2 separate regions of the Homo sapiens genome follow, and region 2 is linked to region 1. Evidence: promoter capture Hi-C in human tissues and cell types (Jung and others, 2019). All regions are on one chromosome and are shown on one strand. Each heading gives the region's core, a stretch centred on a gene start or on the middle of the fragment in contact. The rest is flanking DNA. Distances are from core to core; before and after follow the strand shown.

Region 1 (5,199 bases), core at 1,472-3,971:
CCCTCAAGTAGGCCCCAGAGTCTGCTGTTTCCTTTTTTGTGTCCATATGTACTCAATGTTTTGCTCCCACTTGTGAGAACATATGATAGTTGGCTTTCTGTTCCTATGTTGGTTAACTTAGGATAATGGCATCCAGCTCCACCCATGTTGCTGTAAAGAACATGATCTTGTTCTTTTTTATGGTTGCATAGTATTCCATGGTGTATATGTACCACATTTTCTTTATTCAGTCTACTGTTGATGGGCATTTAGGGAAGATTCCATGTCTTTGCTATTGTGAACAGTGCTGCAATAAACATGGGAGTGCGTTTTTTTTTTACAGTAGAATGATTTATATTCCTTTGGATATATACTCAATAATGAGATTGCTAAGTCAAATCATAATTATGCTTTGTGTTCTTTGAGAAATCACCAAACTGCTTTCTATAATGGCTGAAGTAATTTACATTCCCACCAGCAGTGTATGTGTTGCTTTTCTCTGCAACCTTGCCAGCATCTGTTGTTTTTTGACTTTTTAATAATATTCATTCTGACTGGTGTGAGATGGTATCTAAATGTGGTTTTGATTTGCATTTCTGTAATGACGAGTGATGTTAAGCATTTTTTATATGCTTGTTGGCCGCATGTCTATCTTCTTTTGAGAAGTGTCTGTTTATGTCCTTTGCCTTTTTAATGAGGTTTTTTGCTTATTGATTTTTAAAATTCCTTATAGATTCTGGATATTAGACCTTTCTTGGATTCATAGTTTGAAAATATTTTCTCCCATTCTGTAGATTGTCTGCTTACTCTGTTGATAGTTTATTTTGTGGTGCGGAAACTCTTTAATTAGGTCCCATTTGTCAATTTTTGTTTTTGTTGCAATTGCTTTTGGCATCCTCATGATGAAATCTTTGTCAGGTCCTATGTCCAGAATGGTATTTCCCAGGTTACCTTCTAAGGTTTTTAGTTTTAGGTTTTACATTTAAGTCTTTAATCCATTTTGAGTTGAGTTTTGTATATGGTATAGGAAGGGGGTCCTGTTTCATCTGTATATGGCTAGCTAGTTATCCAAGCACCATTTATTGAATAGGGAGTCTTTTGCCCATTGCTTGTTTTTATCAACTTTGTTGAAGACCAGATGGTTGTAGGTCATTCTTAAACTGCTGGATTAAATAAGAGCACATCAACTGAGTATCCAAAGTTATTTTTTATATCTCTTATACAGAATTCGATTGGTCCACCTTTCATCATATCACTAGAGAAATCAGATCCAAGTTACCATATGTGTTCAGTCAAAGGTTATTATACAGCAGTCAAAATGAATGAATTACATGCAACATGTATTAAGAACATATGAATGCAGTTACATGCAACAACATGGATTAATATAGCAACAAAATGTTGAATAAAAAGGCAAGTTGAAGACTACATGTAGTATTATATCCTTTTTAGAATATTTAAATGCAAGCAAAATTAAACAATGTTACTTAGACATACTTTGTATGTGATCACACAAATGTGCAAGAACAAAATTCAGGACAATGACTACCTCAGGGAGGACAGTACGAGAAGAAAAGGAGCACACAGATCTAAATCACTGGTAATTTTCTAGTTCAGTGTTTCTCAAACTTTAATGTGCATCAGAATCACCTTAAAATCTAAATTACTGGGCCCTACCCTCAGAGTTTTCTGGTTCAGTATGTGGGGGATGGGGCCTAAGAATATACATATCGAACGAAGTTCCAGGTGCTGCCAGTTCTGCTGCTCTGGGGACCACACTCTGAAACCACTTGTAGTTCTTAGATTGGGTTGTAGGTTCATAGCTGCTCCATTTTATTATTAAATGTATATGCTACTTAAATTAAATTAAAAAAAAAAGATCAAAGATGAGAGTGTGTTATGAACTAGGGATTAACATTAATTCAATTCTGGGCTCCTGAGGTTTCCTCCCCTAAAAAAAATTCTAAGGTTCCATTACTAAAAGCAAACTTGAGAAACACTATTTTAAAAGAACTTCAAGACCATTAAAAAAATTAACTTTTTGAGAAATAAATTTGAAAATTATTCTTTATATGCACAGTGACAGCATATTGCACTCTACTTTCCTGGATCTCAATAAACTTTGGCAAGAACTTGGCAGATCACAAATCTACTTTTGTTGATTCAACAAAAACTGTTTAAAGACTTCTCTTCCATTCTCAGTTCTTATCCTTCTCTCAAAATGCTGTAGGTAATGATTTTTCATCTTTTTTCTCTCTCCCTCCCTTACAGATTGATTTAGGCTCTGAGATAAAATTTAGGTGACATTTTAGATATCGACAGGGCATGTGCAGAGCAATACTCTGTCTTGCAGTATGCCAGCCACGGACGGGGTTTAGACAAACGGCTGAATATAAAACTCTTGCCTACAAGCAGCTCAGCCTAGAGGGGGAAACAGATTCATAAATATAAAATTACAATCCAAAGCAGGAAACACAGTATGTTATACGAAGGCAAAGAGGTTCGTCTTCTTTCATAGCCTCTCCTAAACCCGGCAACTCTGAGCTGTTTTTCTGGCAAGCCGCCGTCCATTGGCGGCCTCTGGCGCCGCGGCTTTCGGCGTGCGGACGGCGCAGGCGCGGGCGGGGCGGGGCCGGGCGGGGAGGGCGGTGAGGGCCGGCGCTCGGGGCCGCGTTTCATTGGCTTTCCGGCCGGAAGCTGCGGCGCGACCCGGCTGCGCATGCGCCTCTCACACGTGCTGTCAGAACGCCGCCTCCTCCGCTTGCGGCCGGTCTGCACCATGCTGCGAACGTCCGTCCTCCGCCTGCTAGGACGCACGGGGGCTAGTAGGCTGTCTCTCCTGGAGGACTTCGGCCCACGCTACTACAGTTCGGGCTCCCTCAGTGCCGGCGATGATGCTTGTGATGTGCGCGCCTACTTCACTACACCCATTTTCTACGTGAACGCGGCGCCGCACATCGGGCACCTGTACTCGGCACTACTGGCGGACGCCCTATGCCGCCACCGTCGCCTCCGAGGTCCCAGCACGGCCGCCACGCGATTCTCCACTGGTACCGACGAGCACGGGCTGAAGATTCAGCAGGCAGCAGCTACCGCGGGCCTGGCCCCGACCGAGCTGTGCGACCGAGTCTCTGAGCAGTTCCAGCAGCTTTTCCAGGAGGCCGGTATCTCCTGCACAGATTTCATCCGCACCACGGAGGCCCGGCACCGGGTGGCTGTGCAGCACTTCTGGGGGGTGCTTAAGTCCCGCGGTCTGCTCTACAAGGGCGTCTATGAAGGTTGGTATTGCGCTTCCGACGAGTGCTTCCTGCCTGAGGCCAAGGTCACCCAGCAGCCGGGCCCATCGGGGGATTCGTTTCCTGTATCTCTCGAGAGCGGGCATCCAGTCTCCTGGACCAAGGAAGAAAACTACATTTTCAGGCTTTCCCAGTTCCGGAAGCCACTCCAGCGGTGGCTGCGGGGCAACCCTCAGGCGATCACCCCCGAACCATTTCATCACGTAGTTCTTCAGTGGCTGGACGAGGAGCTGCCCGACCTGTCCGTGTCTCGCAGAAGTAGCCACTTGCACTGGGGCATTCCGGTGCCCGGGGATGATTCGCAGACCATCTATGTATGGCTGGATGCCCTGGTCAACTACCTCACTGTAATTGGCTACCCAAATGCTGAGTTCAAATCTTGGTGGCCGGCCACCTCTCATATCATAGGTAAGGACATTCTCAAATTCCATGCCATCTATTGGCCTGCCTTCCTGTTAGGGGCCGGCATGAGCCCGCCACAGCGCATCTGTGTCCATTCCCACTGGACAGTCTGTGGCCAAAAGATGTCCAAGAGCTTGGGCAACGTGGTGGATCCTAGGACTTGCCTTAACCGCTATACCGTGGATGGCTTCCGCTACTTTCTCCTTCGGCAGGGCGTCCCCAACTGGGACTGTGACTACTATGATGAAAAGGTGGTTAAGTTGCTGAACTCCGAGCTGGCAGATGCCTTGGGAGGTCTCTTGAACCGATGCACTGCCAAAAGAATAAATCCTTCTGAGACCTACCCAGCCTTCTGCACTACCTGCTTCCCTAGTGAGCCAGGGTTGGTGGGGCCGTCAGTTCGTGCTCAGGCAGAGGATTATGCTCTGGTGAGCGCAGTGGCCACTTTGCCAAAGCAGGTAGCAGACCACTATGATAACTTTCGGATATATAAGGCTCTGGAGGCCGTGTCCAGCTGTGTCCGGCAAACTAATGGTTTTGTCCAAAGGCATGCACCATGGAAGCTGAACTGGGAGAGCCCAGTGGATGCTCCCTGGCTGGGTACTGTGCTTCATGTGGCCTTGGAATGTTTGCGAGTCTTTGGGACTTTGCTGCAGCCTGTCACCCCAAGCCTAGCTGACAAGCTGCTGTCTAGGCTGGGGGTCTCTGCCTCAGAGAGGAGTCTTGGAGAGCTCTATTTCTTGCCTCGATTCTATGGACATCCATGCCCTTTTGAAGGGAGGAGGCTGGGACCTGAAACTGGGCTTTTGTTTCCAAGACTAGACCAGTCCAGGACTTGGCTGGTGAAAGCCCACCGGACCTAGAAACTCAGTTCTTACCGGCTTGTGGTAAAAAAGCAAATGTGTTATCTTTTTATTTTTTATTTTCAGGAAAGTTATACTAGTATTTTCTTAAGTGTGGAATCAAATGAGCACATAAGCTGTGTCCCTGTGAAAAGAGGTTTGTAGCCTTTCAGGTGCCTGCTCCTATTCATTTCTCTGTGACCATTGATCACTGTCCTTTGTGCATTGTGTGTCTAAGATGTCTTCAGGGGAAAGATGGGTAAGAGACAGTGTTGCTAATGCTGTTCCTTCTTTGTGCCTCCTTCCAAACCACAGTTATTTGCCCAAACTACCTCTCGTGGCTGGTTTTTCATTGGCCTGGCCTCTGCTTCTCAGGCTAATTAGTGACTCCTTTCTTTGAGGGTCAGGGTTGGAGGCCCCTTACTGGTGGTTTTACAGGGGGATCCTACTTTGTTACACATGTTGGGTTTCCTGATAAAAAGAGAGTATTTTATTAAACCCTTGAACCAGTGTCCTAGACCAGATGATTTTTGCCCATGTGTATCCCCATTTAAATTCCTACAACTAAGTCTCCCTGCTTTGTTAATAGTCCAACAGTTGGGTTGTGTAACATCACACTTCAACCGGTAGATGGCTCTAATCTCACACATTTACTTACTAAAGATTGAGGATTCGGAATA
Region 2 (4,846 bases), core at 1,298-3,797, 300 kb before region 1:
ATGGCCTTTGCAATATAACCAAATGTGTTGACTGTGGCTCTACGAATAGCCTTTTTGTGGGCTTTTAAGAGCTCTAAAAGCTCAAAGCAAATCCTCATCCACTCTCTTGCAGATACATATTCAGCTCCCCTAATTTAAAAAATACACATATTAATTATTGTGACATTAAGAAAAGTTTTAAGGATAAATTTGCAAATTCAGTTCTAAAAACATGATTAACTCATTTTAAGCATTAAATAAAACTTACTACTCTTCAGAAAGGCTGAAGAGTTAGTCTTACAGGTTTAGTCCTAAAATTACATTGCCACCCCCATTACCATCCAAATTGAAATTTGACTGAAAATATTAATACTGGATAGCCTAATCTTTTACACTTATATTAGTGACATTAAGGAAATTTTGCTAATTGAATACAAAGTGGCCAAATTTGAAAATTGATACTGCTTATAAAAATGTGTGGGTAATCTGCTTACCTGTCAGCAATACGACCAACAAGATCAATACAATTCTCTTGTACTTTTTCATGTCTGTTCTTTAAGATGGGGGTGAGTCTAGGCAGCAGATCTTTAATTGGTGGAGTCATCTTATGCATACCTATTTAATAGAAGTCAATAAACTATCAACATTTGAATTGCAACTTTTGTTCACTTTCCTTTTACTTAGCAATGTCATATATGACTATGTATAAATATAAACTTACAGCTGCCTAGGGAAAGAGAAAGCCCCAGATTCTGACCAGACTCAGAATCGTTTTTAACTTTTATTAACAATTTTTGATTATGTATAGAAATGAAAGAAATCAGTGAAGTGATTTAAAGGATGATGGATACTCAATAACAAAAAAGTTTTGTTTGATTCTGAAATATATTTGTGCACTGACATTTAAATATGGGGACAGCTTATGTTCCGGCCATACACAACAATATAAGCCAGAGGTAAACATGTAAATAAAGCAAAAATTTCCAGAAAGGGCCCCCTTACCCTTTAACTGCAAAACAAACAGATCTCCAGTCTCCCTGCAATGCAGGGCATACTTGGATGGTATTTACACCTACGAAGAGAGAAAAAAGGAGGCAGCTGGCAGGGGCTCTTGCTCTAACTAGAATCACTTGCTCTGATTCTCTCTCCATTGCTCTTCCCATGCCTCTCTGACAAACAATATGGTTTAAAACTCCCTGCAAACCAGAGCCCTACAAGTGGCCATGTAAATGATTTCTGGCAAGTAGCTATCTTCAAGTATAGAGGATAGGGTTGCATTGGAGATTATATGCAAATACAATAGTTTAAACATGTGTATCGCATAAATACCTCTTACAAAATGAGGAAAAACAAACAGTGGCTCTCTCACAGTCAGCTATTTTGACTTCTGCTAGGTTATCAGAGCCTCTAAACTCTGCAGGAGTTACATTTGGCAACAGTTATAATCAATTTAAAAAAAAGATTAAATATAAGAAACCATTTGTTTTCTTCATACTGCCCTAATGGAATAAAAACTTTGCTCTCCATATCCAAGACCATTTGTAATATAGCTGTATTACGGGTTAGAAAACTGAATGGACAGTATTTAAAACTTGGGTATGTAAATAAAGACAATAATTTGATCAGTTCACTTTTCTCTGATTATATTCCTTGAAACTGATCACAAGCAAAAAACCTGTCATAATCGCTAATTCAAGGTTTAAATATATATATATTGTTCTAAAACTAAATTAAAACTTTAGGATTGCCTTTTCACCCCGCAGCAGAACATGGCAGAATATATTTCACCTGACACACTATTTCTACTAGGGTCCTGTATTCCATGACTTCAAAGCTTTTTGAGCTGTGACTACTCCCACCTCTCATGTAGGTCCTAAACTTACCCTTTTTTTCTCTTTAAAGTAAAATATAAATGGGTTTTGGGAAACAAGACTTTTGTGACATCCCCCGACTTAACTACAATCTTGAAGTGCTTTTAAAAAGCTAACAAAAACCTCCCAACTCCTAAATAAGATTTTACTTACGAAAAAAAAAAGAAAAAGAAAGTTAAAACAAGAAAAAGTCTTATGTAACCAGCAAATTCCATACCTATGACATTTACAATGGCCTTCAGTGCTCCAAGAATGCTGCCCAATACTTCAGGGTACTCTTCACCCAAATACTCATACAATACAACACCCAAGTGTCCCATCAATTTTTCCTATAATAAAACAAATAATGTTAAAATGTTACTATTTACATTAAACTATTTGGGGAAGAAGTAAGAATTTGATGCAAAAGTTTACCTCTTGACAAGTCTTCATGACAACAGCAGTTCGAGAAATCAAGTCAGCTGCCTGTTGCCTAACTTTAGCAGATTTGTTATTTAAACGCCACAAAACTGTACCACAGATCTGAGGCAAGTATGGTTTGACTCGTTTGCCAAGAGCATTAACCACTGTGCCAAAGCCGTTCAACATTACTGAGTCCTAAAAAATAAATTTAAAAAAAAGACATATTCATTTGGTTTATGACTGCACAGTTGAAATACACTAAGAGTCAACCTTTTCTAACCACCCAAACATCTGTTGCTGTTTTTTTACATCAAATCTTAAAACTTGAGGTAGAATAATATCGTTTGGTAACCCCCTGAGCATTTTAAAAATTACTTCAAATTCAATTGCATTCTAGAAAAATTTGCTTGACAACTAATATGCTTTTCTACAAATATTAAAGTTAGTAGCAATGTGCCATAATAGTTTTCATTACCTCTGTAGTCTGTTCTTGGAAAGCATAAAGAATACCATCAATCAGTTGTTCTTCAAGTTTATGATCAATATCTGCTGCTCCCAAATTACCCATAATTTTCTCAATTGTCTCCATCACCATTTTTCTGTACTGTTCGGCTTCATCTTTCAGATCATCCACAATCCTGGATATAATTTCTGCTGCACCTACTTTGTTTGCCAACTCCACAGTAGTATCAACTAACTAAAAAGAACAGAAAAACAAAAAACCTTTTAGACTGCTTTTCCAAGGAAATAAAGCAACATCATGAAAACCAAATACTCTAAATATACTACTTATTTAGCTAATAAACATGGTAAGAATGATTCATTGCTACTTATTAAAGTTGAAGAGAAAAGTGACCAAACATCGAAAAATGAGTATAAGTTAACATGATTCAAGGTAAAACTGTGTCCATGTTTCATCTAGCCAGATAAAGCACTGAATGTACCAGACAAAAACATCAATTCACAGTTAAGTATTAATCCTCGAATCCAAAATCAAAATGGAAGTTAACTGGCTGACTAAAATCCATCTCCTTTCATAATCAAGCACATATAAACTGTGAGATAATCAAGGCAAAAAATAATATACAACATGCATTCAAGTTGACTAAAGAATGAGTTGAAAGGACTTTTGAGAATATTCTTTTACAATAAAAGCTTACCTGTCGGTAATTTCTTCTATCCAAAGCCATCCTGTGCTGCCAGAAGTGTTTAAAAAAGGGAGGAAGAATCTCTGTTTTAATGTAGTTTGCTTCTACACCATCTGTCCCACAACACTGTTTTACCACCTAAAAGGTTAAGAAATAGTAATAATAAATCAACTGACCTGAAATGAAGAGAATACTCATTGCTGATTACGTGATTTTAAAAAATAAAATTTAAAAACAAATCAAACAGTATTCGTGTAACATACAGTTTTTTTTGTTGATTTTTAAAAACACTTTAAAATTCTGTTAGAACCATGAAACATATCCAGTTTACATTAACAAATCTGGAATAATTACCTTCAGCACAATTTTTTTCATTTCCTCATCAGGAGACTGGAATTCTCGAATAAGGATTAACATCACTTCTCTAGTATAGTAGTTGGCATATTCTGCATCCATAAGAGGAATAAGATACCCAATAGCCTTCAAGAAAGCAGCCAAACCCTATTTTTAAATAAAAAATATATGTACTTTAGTAATTTAGATTTATGTCGCCTTAACTTTAATGAAGATAAATCAAAAGGTAATTGGTGGATTTACCTTTCCTCTGTGTTGGCGGATACCCTTCCATAAAGGCTTTAACACAGAATCAAAAGATTCGATACCATAAGGAGTTGCTGCTTCAGCCAAGGCAGCAATGGCCAAAGCACTGATGGTCCGAACTTTCTGCTGCTCATCCACAAGACCTACAAAACCAAACACAGGTTTTAACTATGCCCCAACATTACCTAAGTTACACAATATCATCCAGATTCTCTCAATATATCAACTATTCAGCCAAACTGCAGAATATGTTCACATTAAACAAAATTAGGTAAAAGCAAAACATGAACCATAGCCTGTCAGCAGATAATATAACAAACCCATCATAAAATCTATAGTTTGTAGAGCTATGCCTTTCCATTTATCTCCCCAAATCAGTAGCCCAAATTTTAGGACAGCTGTCCTATTAAACATGGACAGGCTGTGTGTGTACCTCTAGTCCCAACTACTAAGGAGGCTGAGCAGGAGGATCACTTGAGCCCAAAGGTTTGAGTCCAGTCTGGGCAACATAGTAAGACCCTGTCTCCTAAAGAAAAAAAAAAAAAGACAAAGTTACATTACAACTTACCATGTTCAATGATTTCAACTAAACTTCTAAGATGTGGCAAGATGGCACAGCCCATAAGAATAGCTATCTGTTGTACAATCTTAATACCAGTGTGTCTCGCTTGCCAGGACTTCTTGCTTTTGCACACAGCTTTTAAGAAGGGCAATAAAGAAGGAATGCCCAGGGCAGAGGCTACAACAGCAAAAGCTCTAGCTGTTGTGTTACGGACATACTCATCCATGTTATCTATATCAGGTCTCATGGTAGAGATCATAGTAGCCAGACCAGCAGCCTAAAAT

What was found. Contacts are between HindIII fragments. The study calls those that stand out against the background at their distance.
Region 2: a contact is called between a fragment that was not itself captured here and the fragment with the promoter of MARS2 in region 1, in 2 of the 25 tissues and cell types used here (H1 embryonic stem cells and aorta).

What each region holds. Positions count from the first base shown.
Region 1 is chr2:197,702,648-197,707,846 of GRCh38, forward strand. MARS2 (methionyl-tRNA synthetase 2, mitochondrial) reads left to right here and starts at 2,722. Exons shown (of 1, transcript NM_138395.4): 1 at 2,722-5,199. The coding sequence starts at 2,759. The coding sequence ends at 4,540. RefSeq lists a silencer at 2,536-2,775 and enhancers at 2,916-2,965, 3,006-3,125. The HindIII fragment of the contact is 12,008 bases long and covers 1-5,199 here.
Region 2 is chr2:197,397,988-197,402,833 of GRCh38, forward strand. It overlaps SF3B1 (splicing factor 3b subunit 1), which reads right to left. Exons shown (of 25, transcript NM_012433.4): 14 at 4,569-4,839; 15 at 3,998-4,143; 16 at 3,755-3,901; 17 at 3,413-3,538; 18 at 2,728-2,949; 19 at 2,265-2,447; 20 at 2,068-2,179; 21 at 474-594; 22 at 1-129. Among named protein-coding and RNA genes, the nearest start is that of SF3B1, 35 kb to the right of the region's middle. The HindIII fragment of the contact is 4,421 bases long and covers 338-4,758 here.